Linked DNA regions of Homo sapiens: region 2 is linked to region 1. The links are contacts of gene promoters, found by promoter capture Hi-C in human tissues and cell types (Jung and others, 2019). All regions are on one chromosome and are shown on one strand. Each heading gives the region's core, a stretch centred on a gene start or on the middle of the fragment in contact. The rest is flanking DNA. Distances are from core to core; before and after follow the strand shown.

Evidence for each region. Contacts are between HindIII fragments. The study calls those that stand out against the background at their distance.
Region 2: the fragment with the promoter of C16orf90 here is called in contact with a fragment that was not itself captured in region 1 in 1 of the 25 tissues and cell types used here (dorsolateral prefrontal cortex).

What each region holds. Positions count from the first base shown.
Region 1 is chr16:3,873,148-3,876,446 of GRCh38, reverse strand. All of the region lies in intron 1 of CREBBP (CREB binding lysine acetyltransferase), which reads left to right. Among named protein-coding and RNA genes, the nearest start is that of CREBBP, 5.9 kb to the left of the region's middle. The HindIII fragment of the contact is 5,503 bases long and covers 1-3,299 here.
Region 2 is chr16:3,493,674-3,496,752 of GRCh38, reverse strand. It overlaps C16orf90 (chromosome 16 open reading frame 90), which reads left to right and starts at 1,264. Exons shown (of 3, transcript NM_001080524.2): 1 at 1,264-1,377; 2 at 1,876-2,229; 3 at 2,766-3,079. The coding sequence starts at 1,332. The coding sequence ends at 2,914. It also overlaps a transcript of CLUAP1 not described here and the pseudogene RPL18P12. The HindIII fragment of the contact is 9,668 bases long and covers 507-3,079 here.

The sequences.
Region 1 (3,299 bases), core at 452-2,951:
GTTTTTTGTTTTCTGGGTTGTTTTTTTTTTTTTTTTTTTTTTTTTTTGGTCAGCTTTATTGCAAAATTTGCACACAACAGACTGTTTATAAAGTTTTTTGAAATTGCAGGCCAGGGTGGTGGCTCATGCCTATAATCCCAGTGCTTAGGGAGACTGAGACAGGAGGATTGCTTGAGGCCAGCAGTTGGAGACCAGCCTGGACAACATAGTGAGACCCCATCTAAACAAAAAATTTTTTTAATTAGTTGGGTGTAATAGTACAATCCTGTAATCCCAGCTATTCAGGAGGCTGTGGCAGGAGGATCGCTTGAGCCCAGGAGGTCGAGGCTGCAGTGAGCTGTGATCATGCCACTGCACTCTGGCCTGGGTGACAGAGTGAGACCCTGTCTCTGGGGGAAAAAGGAAAAGAAAAACTACATTCTGAAGATTGAACATAGCTGTGTTTCATCCTGTGCTGTATAAGTGGCTCTAAGCAGTTGTGATTACATTTTATGACGTGAATCCTTTTAAATGCAATAGGGAAGCTTATTTAAAGAAAGCTGGTGGCGAATATGGTTGTCAACCAAATGGTCTGTTATGTATGTCTGGTACTTTATGTATCAGAGTGCTTTTCTCCACGTCACCTCAGTTTGATCCTTACAGCGTCCTGTGAGGAAGGGAAGATGCTGTTACTGCTATTTTCTAGGTGAGGAACTGGACTTGAGAGGTGATACAGGGTCAAAACCAGATCCAAACTAGATTGTTAAAGTCCGTAGCTCTATATATTTATTTTCTAAGTCTCTATCTGTAAACAATGCATTTACTTGAATCGACCCAGGAACCTGCCAAGCTTAGTGAGTTTCAGTAGCGGCCTTCCCGCACATGAATGAGATCACTAAGGGGGAGGTTTGTAACCACCTGTGGTGGGGGCAGCCAGGAGTGTATTCTTCCTCCTGGGTTAGGGCGTCCCCCTTTTCCCTCTGGTTCTGGTGTTATCCTCAGCGTGACGTGTGTGGGCTCGTGTTCCTGTTTACCTCAGGGAGAATGAGAAACGGTTATGTTACCCCATCAGTGAGTTCTGGCTAAGTAGGAATAAAAGTTGTCATAGAGACTTTTAGGACTAGGACATTTCATGACCGTGCTTCGTTTTTGAATAACTGAGAGGGGTGAGAGCGGTGGCCCCATTCAAAGGTCGTCAGGGATGAAGGTAGGCAAGGACAAGTCATGTGCAGGGCGCCTTAGAGGGCCTTCAGAAGATGGAAAGTCGCTCCTGGCTGAACATTCAGATTTGATTCTGTAAACAGAATTGAACATAACTTACAAAGAGACTGAGTCCTGCAGTTGGAAGTTGATGCTTAGATTAGTCGCCTGTGTTTTCACAGCTTCTAAGTAGTGTGTTGTAATTGTGTGGCAAAGTATGTGATTACCTGGGGGGTCCATAATTGCTGACTTGTGTTTTTACTTGATGTATTTGAAAACAGTTAGGAAAATGATTTTGCCAAAGTGTGTCTTACCTTAGTTAAGATGAAATGTACCTTATTGTGAGTTTCTGAAGATTGCAAAAGCTTGTCAGTTTAGTTTTTGGGGTCCCATTAGTGAGGGCACCCCTCTTTACCTTACTCAAACCAGCTCTTCACATGTATTCCAAGAAACTAGAGGGCATGCTAAGAGGTATTTCTCAACAAATGGTTTGTGCTCAGATGCTGTTGCTTGTAGCTGAGGAATTTGACTGCAGACTTTCCCAGAGCCTTGGTGTCCTGATTGGGCACTGTGAGAGAGGGGCTACAGTTGGACCACTCTCAATCCTGTTTGACGCTAGAACTCTTTTTAGCCTATTATGGGTCCGCAGACTTCCTCTGCAAAGGGCCAGAGAGCACGCATTTGGCTTTCTGAGCCATATGGTCTCTTGTTGCAACTACTCAAGGCTGCCATTTCAGCAAGAAAGTAGCCATAGGCGAGTGGGCCTGGCTGTGTTCCAGTAAAACTCTAGTTGTAAAGACTGGCATCTGAGGACTTCGCCCATGGGCTGCAATTTGGTGACTGATATAACGTGGGACTTCATTCTCTGAGCACCCGTTGGGGAGCACTGGCCTACCACGGCTGCACAGACAGCTTTAAGGAAAACAGCAGCAGGGCAAGTTTTCTGAGCTGCATGATGTGGAGCCCGGGAGAGCCCAGGTGAGCAGCAGGCTAGCTTGGGTCTCCTGTCTTGGAGCACTTCAGAGCTTAGCAGGGCCCTCTCTCTCTGTCTTTTTTGTTCCTCTGTAACAGTTATATGGATGACTTGATTTAAAATCAGACGAATTTATCAGAAAGCCTGGTGACCGGTTGCATTTTTCTTTGTTCTTTTGCTTTTTGTTGACCCCAGTGGCCCACATGGCATTTCTCGTCCGTCTTTGTCATCTCAGGCTCTAGGCTTGCTCCCCTTCCTGTGACACCAGAAGGTGAGCGTCAGTAAGAACTCCAGAGCCTTTCCACGGCCCTCTTCCCAGCACTTCCCTCCCCAGGGGCAGTGCCTGACACATAGTAGGCCCTCAGGAAATATTTGAGGGAATTAGTGAAAGAATTATATAGTATTTGTCCCTTAAAGTTCTTATCATTTTCTTGTTAAGGTTTTACTTTCAAGCAGATTGCCACCTATCTTCTAATTGGGTCTGTTATTTGCTTCCGAGTTCCGTACCCATGGGCTCCCACCCGGCCACCAAACCAGCTGGCCTTAGGAGTGCTGAGGCCAGAGCATGTTTGGGGCAAGTTACATCAGCTCTCTGAGCTCAGAGTTTCCTCATCTGTAACATGGAGATAATAACAATTCCCATCTCAGGGTGGTTATGAGGGTAGCCTGAGATGATGTGTGTCTGGCATATCCGCCCAATGGGAACTGACACTAGCGTTAACCAGGGACGTTGTCGTACCTTGTAAGTCCTAGGACTTACTGGGAGTGCTAGTCTGATTGGAGCAAGACCTGTTTCTCAGCAGTTCTGGAAAGGACAGAAGCCATGTGTGCTCGTATCCACAGAAACCAGTGTGCAGGCACGCGTGTGATAGTGTAGCACCTCAGCAGATACATAGCCGGGAATTCTGTCATCTATACCATTGACTCTGTCTCCATTTTTTATTGTATTTTTAAAAATAGGAACGTGATGGCCATGAAAGCTTAAAATTACGAAAACTTAAATGGTGTGTGTTCTGAATTATTTTTTCTTTTAAATCAAATCAGGATGTACACTGAAAATTATTGATAATTTTGAAGCATATTTCATGGACTGTTTAAGCAGCAGACAAGTATGTGATTCTGTTTGTTTACTGTGTATAATTTATCT
Region 2 (3,079 bases), core at 15-2,514, 380 kb after region 1:
CTGGCCCGTAGGCCTCTGGCGCGCTCGAACTTCTGGTCCCTGGAGCGGAAATAGCGTTTGGTGTGGCTGTGTGGGGTTCCCAGGGCCTTGCCGAAATGCCGGTACACCTGTCGGCCCTTGCGAAGACCGGAGAGTAGGACGGGGCCGCCGTCCTTGAGGGAGTCCAGGGCCAGCTGATCGAAAGTCAGGATCTTGGCCCCCACCCTGAGGATGCCGCTGTGGGCCGGCTGGTCACGGGCAGCGCACACACCTTAAGTTTGGGCACCTCCTGAACCCTCGCGTCATCCGTTAAGCGTCCCCACAACCACGGCCGTTTTGTTTTCCCAGCCAGGAAGCTTCATCTTCCGGATCATCCGGGAAACGGACAGAGGTGGCCGGTTGGTGCGACTCATAAACAACCTCTTCAGCACAACCTGGTTGAATGTGGAGTTAGTTCGTCTGGACGGTAACCTGTACAGCTTGACCAACAAACAGCCTCAGTTAGATATCCTGGCTCTTGGGCTCTTTGCGCCGAACCTTTAGGTCCTTCTTGTGGCGGACGTCAGCTCCCATGATGGCGCTTCCTGCTTGGCCAGGTCCGGAAAGATGAATGTTTAACTTTTTTTTTTTTTTGAGACGGAGTCTCGCTCTGCAGCCCAGGCTGGAGTGCAGTGGCGCGATCTGGGCTCACTGCAAGCTTCGCCTCCCGGGTTCACGCCATTCTCCTGCCTCAGCCTCCTGAGTAACTGGGACTACAGGCTCCCGCCACGACGCCCGGCTAATTTTTTTGTATTTTTAGTAGAGACGGGGTTTCACCGTGTTAGCCAGGATGGTCTCGATCTCCTGACCTCATGATCCGCCCACCCCGGCCTCCCACAGACCTCAACTGATCAGCCTGCCTCGGCCTCCCACAGTGCTGGGATTACAGGCATGAGCCACCGCCCCCAGCCCCTTTTCAGCATTTTCAAAGTACCGACCTAGGTCTTCCTAGGTCTGTACTCCTGAACCCTCATTTCCCACCCCAGATGAGGAAGCTGGCCCCAAGAGATCACCTGAGAGAAGGACTCTCCAGTTTGCCAGAGCTGTCTGTTTTATGTGGCCTGACCCCAGCCAGAGGGACCAGGGACTTCCCCCAGGGTTCTGGCCCCTTCCCATGCCTTTCTTTCACCCTGCCCTTGCCTTGGGCACTGTCCTCTCCCAAACTAGGGGTCCAGGAAGGCTGGGAGTCTTCCCCGTGATGTCATAAGAACCAGTTGCCAGGGGAGACCTGCCAATGTACCCCCTAGGCAGGGGAGAGCAGGGCCCTGCTGCACCCAAGTCCTGGTTGCTCCTCCCCACCACACTGGCCCTCCATGGAAGCCTTGGTCTGTGCATTTTCTGAGCTGCACATAAGAGAAGGTGCCGGGCTGTGGGGAGGAGTGGCAGGAAGAGAGATAGGCTTCTGTCCCCACCTGGGCCCAAAGCCGAGGGGTGGCCTCAGGGACATGTATGCTTGGGAGAGGGGAATGGCCACTGGGCCAGGCCATGAGCCCCTGGGCTGGCCACTTTCTCTCAAACCCACTGTGCAATTTCTCTGTGGGGACCAGAATACTCTTCCTAGGGTAGCGGGCAGAACAGGGTAGTAGAAAGGACTTGAGGTCCTGAAAGCACTCTTAGTACCAAGGCCCGAGGCTTCCCAGGCCTCCCTGTTGGTTGGGAGTGGGAAGAGGAGTCGTGTCTTGGGCATGGGCAGGGGAGGCAGTGGACTGAGACTATTTGACACACAGGTAAACTGAGGCCAGGTTGGCTGGGGGTGTAGCCCATCATGTGAGCTGGTCTCAGAGGTATGTGACTGCACCCTCCCCTCATGGCTGCTGTGGGGGGCTGGCCACCACCCTCCCGCTGTCTCCTCTGCAGATGCAGTGAGCCAGGCCCAAGGACGCCCCGGCCACCCTGACGCACCCCCCAACATCTACGAGGGGGGCCTGGGGTCCCCGCAGCCGCAGTGCCCCAGTGCCCAGGGAAGCAAGCCCAAGAACTTCCGGCTGCGCCACCTCCGGGGCCTGGGCCTCTACCTGGAGAGCCACCCGCCACCCACTGGCCAGTGTGAGAGCCACTGGCTGGGCCGGCTTATGGCTGGGGGCTGCCTGCCACAGCCTGAGGGCACAGCCTGGGCCCTGGACCTGCCACAGGGGACTCTGGGCCCACGTAACAGCCTCTGTTCAGCCCTTCTGGAAGCCCGATTGCCCAGGGACAGCCTGGGAAGCAGTGGTGAGCTCTGTCAAGGCAGGACTGGGCACGGGGGAAGACCCTAGGGGATGGTTGGGCTGGGGCCTCAGGCGGGCCCTTCTCCACTCCCAAGCCTCCACAGTGGCACCATGCCCCAGAAGGCCAAGATCTTGATGAATCTGTCCCCATCTCTGCATCACGCACAGCTAAGCGGGGTCTGGAGAATCCACCAGGGACAAAGCGGTGCGAGAAAAAGGGAGGATCTGGGAGGGAGGGCTGGGTGACTGCCCCAGCTCCACACTCGGTGAGGGGCCTTGGAATCTGTCTCCCTTGCTGGGCCTCAGTTTTCTCACTTGTAAAATGAGGGTTCAGGTTAGATGAGGGTCCTTCCAGCTTGAACCATTCTGTTCCCTCAACCTCCTCCCTCCCCTGGGGATTCTGTTAAGGAGGAAGCATTGCCCTCCTCCCTTCTGTTTTCAAGAATATCGGATTCTGGAAACCCCAGGGTGGGCTGCCAGCCTCCCCCCCAGCCTCCCCTTGGGTCCCTCAAGTGACTCCTTTCTCTCCTCTTTCCTCAGCTTCCAGTTCCAGCATGGACCCAGACAAGGGTGCCCTCCCCCAGCCTAGTCCTTCTAGGCTCAGGCCCAAGAGGTCCTGGGGGACCTGGGAAGAGGCCATGTGTCCCTTGTGCAAGAGAACCCGCTCTGGGGCCCTGGAGAGGCCATAGGGATCCCGAGTGCCAGGACTGGGTACAGGAGGGGCAGGATGGCCGAGGAGGCAGCCTGAGCAGGAGGGGCTCGGCCCCCGGCAGTGGCCCTGCCACATGGGGTGGCCCAGGCAGCGGCCCAGCGCCCAGGCCTGGGCCTCGGGAGAATGTGATGGGGAGAGGGAG